Linked DNA regions of Homo sapiens: region 2 is linked to region 1. The links are contacts of gene promoters, found by promoter capture Hi-C in human tissues and cell types (Jung and others, 2019). All regions are on one chromosome and are shown on one strand. Each heading gives the region's core, a stretch centred on a gene start or on the middle of the fragment in contact. The rest is flanking DNA. Distances are from core to core; before and after follow the strand shown.

Region 1 (3,932 bases), core at 890-3,389:
ACCCACCTCGGCCTCCCAAAAAATTACAGGGATTACAGGCGTAAGCCACTGTGCCCAGTCTCTTTGCTCTTGCTGCCAGGGCTTGTATTGCACAATTTGGACAAGTGTAAATGTCCTATGAATAGTATATCACAGTCTGTACGTTTTGCATGTATGTCAATTGGATTTCACCAAACAAAACCATATATTGGATTCAGTCTTGCAATTTAAAAAAGAAATCATTTGTTCCTTCACGTCTAGTTTGATATTTTCTGGTTTGATTCTAGTTTCCTCAGCTCCAGTTAAATTATCTATGGATGTTGATTATAGTCAGCATTAACTATCAAGGGATGGATTTCTCGCCTTCAGTTTTTGTCAGTAATTATTTCCGTTATTGTGGGCCCTTCATTTCAAGCTCCTTATGCCTTAATTTCTTCATTTTTTGTTTCTATAATACTGTGGACTTGGTCTATAAATGATGTGTTAGATAAATGCCTTCCATGAACACCTCTATTTTACAGCAACCATGGGCAGCATTTTTTTTTTTAAGTTCCAATCCTTCAAAAGGAGCTCTCCAAATGATTTTACCATTTCATCTCTTTTGGTGAGAGATTTAAAATTAAAACATCATTTTCCATAGAATGGCAACATGAAGACAGATGGTTTACTATGTAGCAAAAATAGTTCTCCCTGCCAGAATATCTCCTTTTTGATTGTCCCCATTTAGTCTCGGTTCTCCTATGACACATTCTTGGAGGTTTCTGTTCTTTAACTGAAACTCATCAAGCCAAGGTGACTAAAAGCTAATGTTCCCAGTGAGAATGGGAAGATTCATATCGTCTTAGAGTTGAAAGACCTGTGGATGTCATCAGGTCAAACAATCCACTACTAACTGAATCCTCTTCTCAATGGCTCTGAGCAGTGATCTCTAGCTTTAGCTTTGTCGCTTCCCAGTGAGTAAGAATTTTTGTCTAATTTCTGATGATTATCTTTGCCTTTGTGAATAGTGCAAATGATTAGAAAGATCTTCCTTGGAAATCAACTAGTAACCTCTCTTTCTGTGAGATCCTCTCTTCAGAAGAGGAATAGGAGAATGTTTAGGAGCAGAGCTGGGCACTACACACACCTCCCTTCAATCCTAGCTCTGATAGTGGCCAGCTGTGAGACCTTAGCAAGTCTGTAAAATGTGGATGCTGGTGCCTAATTCATTATTCCCTTAACAAGATTAGCACAATGCCCAGCACACTGGTGCTCAATGTGTGTTAGCAATTATCAATCAAGTATGCTTTAGGGAGGTAATGCAGTCAGGGGCAGGTGAGTGTGAAATTCAGTCCCCTTCTTCATCTTATTGTATAGGCAGTATCTCATAATGGCAATGAGAGCTCTATTGCCAGGCTAAGGAGGCTTAATTAAATATGGGCCTGGTGTATACATTAACAGGGCACCTACCTCAAAAAGTGCAGGGGAGTTTGAATGAGTCAATCCATGCAAAAGGCTTGGAGAGTGCCTGGCACCTAGGTGGCCATCTTGATAACCACAAGGATTTACTGAGCACTTGCTCTGGGGTCAGGCTTTGGGGACAGACAGTGATGAGGCCAAGTCTCAGCCCCCTGGGAAACACATTCCGGCGGGAAAGAGGCTGAAACAGGGAAACTGTGGCAAATGATACCAGCGAGGGCTAGGTCCCTGACACAAGGAAACCCAAGGAAGCATTTGGCTTAAGCGGTGACAATATCCCTCTCCTCAGATGCCAAGGTCAAGGCGAGCCGCGGCAACACCATCTCCCCAGACACACACGCAAAATCGGCCCTTCTCGGGGAAAGGGCAGGGGCTGAAGGGGGAGGCGGGGTGGGCGGCGGCTGGAAAAAAGTGAAATTTCCTCTCCTCCTAAAATAAGTCATTGGAGCGAGGAGAGCGAGCGCTATCTCAGTAGGCTGTGGGCGAGGTGCGGGGGTGGCGGGGGCACGCTCCGGGTCCGCCAGGAGGGGAGGGATCGGAAGGGGAAGCGGGGAGGGAAAGGTGGGTGGGAGGCGCGGGGAGCGTTCCAGGGCGGCTGCTCACGGGTGGCCGCAGCCCAGTGCTGGGACTCGCGCGGCTCCTCCTCTTAGCCCCCCACCCCTTCCTCCTCTTTCCTCCTCCTCCTTCCTCCTCCTCCTCCTCCTTCTTCTCCTCCTTCTCGGCCGGGAGGAGGCAGGGCTGGATCCCTCAGCCGCCGCCGCTCCTCCTCCTGGCAGGCCGGCCGCGGAGTCAGCTGACGCCGGCGCTCCAGCCTCGCCTCCCCGCGCCGCGCTCTGCGCTCCCCGAAAGTGGCTGCAAGCCGGCCGCCCACTGTCAGGGTTGGGGGGACAGAGAAAGTGATGTGCGCCTTCTAAAGCCTCGCCCAGCGCCGCCGAAGCAGCTTCACCTCTCCAACTTTCTCCCACCGACTGCTTGTCTTGACCCTGCCCTCCACCCTCCCCAGAGCCACTTCGGGTGCGCGCTCTTGGGTAAAGGGGGGGTCACCGGCTGTCTGGGATGGCTTCCAATTTTAATGACATAGTGAAGCAAGGGTACGTGAGGATCCGGAGCAGACGCCTCGGGGTGAGTATCGATCCTCTCCGTGTTGCTGTTCGCCGGTTCGATTGTCTCTCTCTTGAGCCAGCATCCCTGGAGGGTGGACGGAGAGTCCCCGGCCGCGCGCCGGAGAATTGCGCGGTGGCTTTCTCAGCCGAAACCCGCGTCTCCGGGGCTGTCACTGTAAGGCCAGCGTCTAGGTATGTAATGGATCTATCTTTATCTCTTGGATGACTTGGCTTTCTGATGGTGGCCGCGTGTTGGGCTTCAGTAGCCCCTGGAGCCCATCTACTCGAAATAAATATTTCTCGGTAGCCATGGAAGTTGGAGCTGAGAAGCCCGGGCGGGGGTGCCTGCCGGATGCCCCCGGTTCCCCTCTTTTCCCACTCGCCGCCAACTTAACTTTTCCGGGGGATGGATCGGCTGGTTGAGAAAGAGGACACGCATACTCGGTGTGAACGAGGTCACGAACCCTCTGACCCCAGGGAGAGATTTCTGCCAAGCGTAAGGTGTCTTTGGATCCCCCCACCTCTGTCCCAGGTGTCGTGTCAAAGGCGGTGCGGGCTGGCCTCTGGTCGGGGCCAACTTGGGTAGATACTTGAATCTGGATTTTCCGTGGTTCGAAGCCGGGGTGGTGGATTTCTGTTGCTGGAATACACCCTGGAGGTCCACGGAAGGGTTATTTACGTGGAACCTGATACCTGGCATAGCGCAAGTGCTCCCTACATATGTCCTGAAAGGAAGAATGAATGAATCTTAGGGCACTTGGGACAGATGTTGACACAGGCTAGCTCCTTCCTTAAAACTCCCTCTCTTTCGCCCCTTTCTCTCTTGGCTCTTCGCTGGAGGAGGCTTCAAAAGAGAACCTACCCTTCCTCTCCTTGGGACTGAATGATGGTGGAAGAATTCTTGAGGGAGAGGGAAGATACTGGAACGATTTTTTTATTTCCTAAAAATTTCAAACTAGGTCCCTCATTTCTCTTTGCCTCCTATCAAGTGTTGTCGCTGTTTTAGTTGATCCTGTGCGTTTGGACATAAGGGGTGAAAAGTGGGGGTGGAGAGGTGGCGGGGGCGGGGGGAGAAAATATCCTTTGGTGTAATGCCTGAAATAAGTATAATGTCAGTAATCGTGTGGAATGCCGCCATTGATAATGAGTGGTAAATTGAATAGCTTTCTTTAGAAATATGTGTCATTTGGCATCTTTCTCTTACTTGGTCTTTGGACTGTTTTAATGTGCCAGATACTTTTACTGAAAACTGAAAAGAAATTTCACAGTAGTAAACTCAGCTAGGGAGGGAAGCCCTGTGGGGAGGAACATCCGCAATTATTATAAAACTCTTGCCTAATTCGTTTTGGTCTTTTTCTTTTCTTTTTCTCCCCTGCTGGTGACCATGTTTTA
Region 2 (4,435 bases), core at 1,471-3,970, 55 kb after region 1:
TCACCTGAGGTCAGGTATTTGAGACCAGCCTGACCAACATGGTGAAACCCTGTCTCTACCAAAAATACAAAAAGTTAGTTGGGCGTGATGGTAGGCGCCTGTAATCCCAGCTACTCAGGAGGCTGAGGCAGGAGAATCACTTGAACCTGTGGGGCGAGGTTGCAGTGAGCTGAGATCGTACCATTGCATCCAGCCTGGGCAACAAGAATGAAACTCCGTCTCAAAACAAAACAAACCAAACAAAAACTCATACATGTATAGATAAATAGGAAGATAGAATTATATCTCTATGGGAATTAGCTTTGGCTGCAGATACCCTCAAACTCAGAATAATAGTAGCTTATTAAGGTCGTTTAGTTTTCTTTCATGGGAAAGAAGTTAAAGTTAGTATCGTAGTTCCATGGTCAACAGGAAACCTGGTATCTTTCATGTGTCTGCTCCACCATTCTTGTATACGGCTTCCCACCTAGAGGTTACCTCATGGTCCAAGATGGCTGTTGAAGCTCCACGCATCATGTATCTTCATGACCAGAAAAAGGAGGGATGGAAGAAGAGTAAACTAATTTTGTCCCTTCTCATTTTAAAAAAGCCTTCTTGGAAAGCTCACACAAAACTTCTTATATCTCCTTGGCCAATATTTGGTCACTTGGCTTTACCTGGAAGAATAGAAAATACAGTCCCTCAGCTGGCACATTGCCGAGGGTTTTGTACTGCCAAATAAAAAGAGAATGACTGCTGGGAGGCAGCTTTTTGGAACTGCTGCAAGTGGCTTCCTTTGGTCACTAGAAGTGGAGATGAAGAGCGGGAACCCTTCCATTTTCTTCTTTATATACTTTTGTACTGTTGTATTTTAAAATAATGAGTTAAAAAAAAAGCAGAGGGATGCATATTTTAAAGAAGAAATGAAAACCTAAGTGGAGTTGTGGTAAGTCATCAGTCCAAGATTAGCGACATGATAGAAAAGATGATTCTCTATCTTGCTTGGACCTACTCTTTGATGTTAAAGCATCTTTGCATCTTTGAATGGATCACCTCCTGCATGACTGTTCTCTGGGTCCTGAGCAGGGAGAGACAACCAGGTGCATACACAATTTGGATTTCATGGTCTTTTTATCTCTACTAAAACTATTTGCAGAGATACAGTTCTAATGACAAATGCTAATTATTGGCTGTCACTTAGCCTTCTAATGATTAAATGCAAAGGCATTAGGGTGTTAAGGAAGATAGACATAATTATAATAATAAGACTAAAATATATGGAATGCTTTCTTGAAGTAGTATATTCCATTGAACAATAATTGCTCTTCAATTGCAGTTTTAATATTCTAAACCTCAACTTCTCACCTTGAAATACTACTACTAATAATAGTTCCTTTATAAATCATGGAATTGTTATAAGAGTTAAAGAAGATAATGCTGATTAGGTGACAGGCTGTCCCTTAATAAATGCTCAATAAATGCAAGATGAGGATGATTTTATTGTTGGCATAGCATGTGCCAGGCATTCTGTAATTATTTTGAATTTTACCCCCAACAACAAGTTTATAAGGGTGACTTTAAAAAAAAAAACAGCATTATTGGGATATAATTCATATACCATAAGATTCATCCTTTTAAAGTGTATAATTCAGTATTTTTAGCATATTTACACTGTTGTGTAACCATCATCACAATGTAAATTTAGAACGTTTTCATCATTCCATAGAGAATTCCCGTACCCATTAACAGTAGTCACTTCTCATTTTCCCTTCCATCAATTTCTGAAAACCACAAATCCACTTTCTGTTTTCATGCATTGGCTTCTTTTGGAAATGTTGTATAAGTGAAATCCTACAATACATGGTCTTTTGTGTCTGGCTTCTTTCACTTAGTACATTGTTTTTGAAGTTTCATCTATGTTGTAGCATGCATTAGTACTGCATTCCTTTTTAAGGCTAAATGATATTCCATTGTGTGGATAGACCACATTTTGTTTATCTATTCATCCATTTATACATTTGGGTTTGTTAAATTAAGTTTAGCCTACAACTGTCTCTTTTTATATATTTTAAGTTTAGCCTAAAGGTTTTTTGTCAACTGTAGTTTACTCTTGTGTCAATTACTGAATTTTGGCTAATCAAAGATGACCAACTGTTTAAATCATGCACAAGTGCCATGGTGTGACCAATTTGGCTATTTCTGTATCTCACTTTTGTTTCTTTGTCCTTTATTTGGTGTGTGTCTATAAATCCTTTTTTACTATGTGGCTATGCTAAAGTCTCTGTAAGCCTATTCTGGCTTGAGAGTCTGCCCTATTACTCATTATTTATTTGACATATTTTGAGATGGCTGTTCAGGGGGCCAGCAGACAGAAGCAACCTGCAAAGCTGTTTTCTATGGGCGAGATTTGCATCTGTAGAGAGTCTACATTGAGGCAGCCAACCCTACCCTTGTCTTGATCTACGGAAGATTAACTGAGAGTCTGACACCTTTAAAGAAGAAACATTTACTATCTCTTCTCTCTGAGGGCTGCTACCTGTTTGATTTCATTTACACAAGACCACCTTTGCTAACCAAGCCTCCTCTTCTCTACTTCCCATGACCTGTCTTGCCAGTCTAACCTGGTTTATCAGCCTAGCCTAATTTGGGCCATCCTGAGCCCTCATTCTTTCTGTAACCTCAAGATGGTTTATAAGCTTCTGCACCCCATCGGGTAGTTGGGGTATTCACTCTGTGGTTCTCTCCCATGTGCACGTTAATAAATTTGTATGCCTTTTCCCCTATTAATCTGTCTTTTTTGAGTTGATTTTTTAAGACAGCCTTTAGAGGGTGAAGGGAAGCTTCCTTTCACCCCTGCAATACCCTGTACACCCATTATTTCCCAAATGTAAGAATATATATGACCCACATAAGAATATAAGAATAAAGGGGTAAGCTAAGTTCCTGTGAGCGGAATTGCAGGATCAGAAGATGTGTATATTATGAGGAACACTCTTGTCAAGTTGCCCTTCCATGGAGACTGTCTGAACCACACTCCTATGTGTTATGAAGAGCTTGAGGCAATATTTCTGTCTGGACCAATTATAAAGAATAGTTGTGACTTTCCTCAGTAATTGGTTTGTTTTTGTCTTATGGAGAATGTTATTCACAACTTACCAAGCTTGGATTATGTTGCTTGCTTAGAGCCTTTGTGGTCCATCATGAATGTCTGTGAAACTATATTCTGAACGTTTGTTAGTGTCACTCCACTTTCATATATTATGTGGTATTGGAAAAGCCTTTCACTGGAGCTTAAAATTCTCACTCAGGTGAATCTTGAGTCAATTTCAATTTTAGTCATAGAACCCCAGAGCTCCAAAAGACTAAAGCGTCAAGAACCTAGTTTATAGCCAGGGAAGTCTTTCAATTTTGAGTGAGTTTGGGTAAAATTCACTATAGATAGAACACCTAAGGATAAATTGATATTATAGAGGAAATAAATCACCAGCTTCTCTCATTTTATAACAAATCAGAGTAAGAATGCCATTCCAGGGCTTTGCAATATTCAGCAACCTCCTACAAGCTTCTTTTTGTCTTTGGATACAAGGAAGATAGAAGTTGAGTCTCTTGCCTCCACGTATTACTATTGGAGACAAAGTCTTGGGGAAGTCAGGTTCCAATTAGTTTCTAGGGGAAAGGCTCTCACTTTCTTCATATCCTTTGAAAAAGCAATCCAGTAAAACTTTACAAAGTTTCCAAGAAAGCGCAAAGAAAGATTTATGTGAATGCCACTGGCTCTACTGATGTTATGTATTCTTTAAGTTGGGGATTCATTTATTTCTTCATTTTACTTGGAAACTGTTTTGTTTTGTGCTCACCATGACCCAATTACTATAATTTGAGCAGTGCATAAAGCAGGCTCTGCCCCTCATAGAATTTACAGTCTAAAGAGAGATAATTATACAAACAATTACTTTAAGTGTAGTTTGTTTATGATGGAGAAAGGTCATGTGTTCTGAGTGTGGATGAGAGGGGCCTCTCATGTAATTGATTTATGCAGCAAGCATTTGTTGAATACCTACAGTATGGTGATCCCTGTGCTAGAGCTGGGGATACAGTAATGAAGGCTATAGACAAATACCCTCCACCTCTGGAAGTTGGAGTCTAGTAAGAGCATCTCTCATTTATTAAACACTTATATTCCAGGCCTTGTTCTAAGGTGATTTAAATGTAGTAACTCATTTGACCCTCTCGACAACCCAGTGTGGTAGATAGGATTACAATTATCTCATGAAGGACAGAGAGGTTAAACAACCTGCCCAAGGCCACACTGCATGTACATTTTGGAATTAACCTGCTCGTGGGCAGGTGGGCTCCTGAGGTTGTGTTCTTGACTTTAATTGTATATGCTTCTCCCTATTCTGTGTTTATAGAGAAGAAGGCATTAGGAGAGGTTTCCTAGAACAAGTAACATGAT

The links. Contacts are between HindIII fragments. The study calls those that stand out against the background at their distance.
Region 2: a contact is called between a fragment that was not itself captured here and the fragment with the promoter of DOK5 in region 1, in 2 of the 25 tissues and cell types used here (aorta and dorsolateral prefrontal cortex).

Annotation. Positions count from the first base shown.
Region 1 is chr20:54,473,454-54,477,385 of GRCh38, forward strand. It overlaps DOK5 (docking protein 5), which reads left to right and starts at 2,140. Exons shown (of 8, transcript NM_018431.5): 1 at 2,140-2,559. The coding sequence starts at 2,494. The HindIII fragment of the contact is 11,986 bases long and covers 1-3,932 here.
Region 2 is chr20:54,527,985-54,532,419 of GRCh38, forward strand. All of the region lies in intron 1 of DOK5 (docking protein 5), which reads left to right. Among named protein-coding and RNA genes, the nearest start is that of DOK5, 55 kb to the left of the region's middle. The HindIII fragment of the contact is 3,382 bases long and covers 1,030-4,411 here.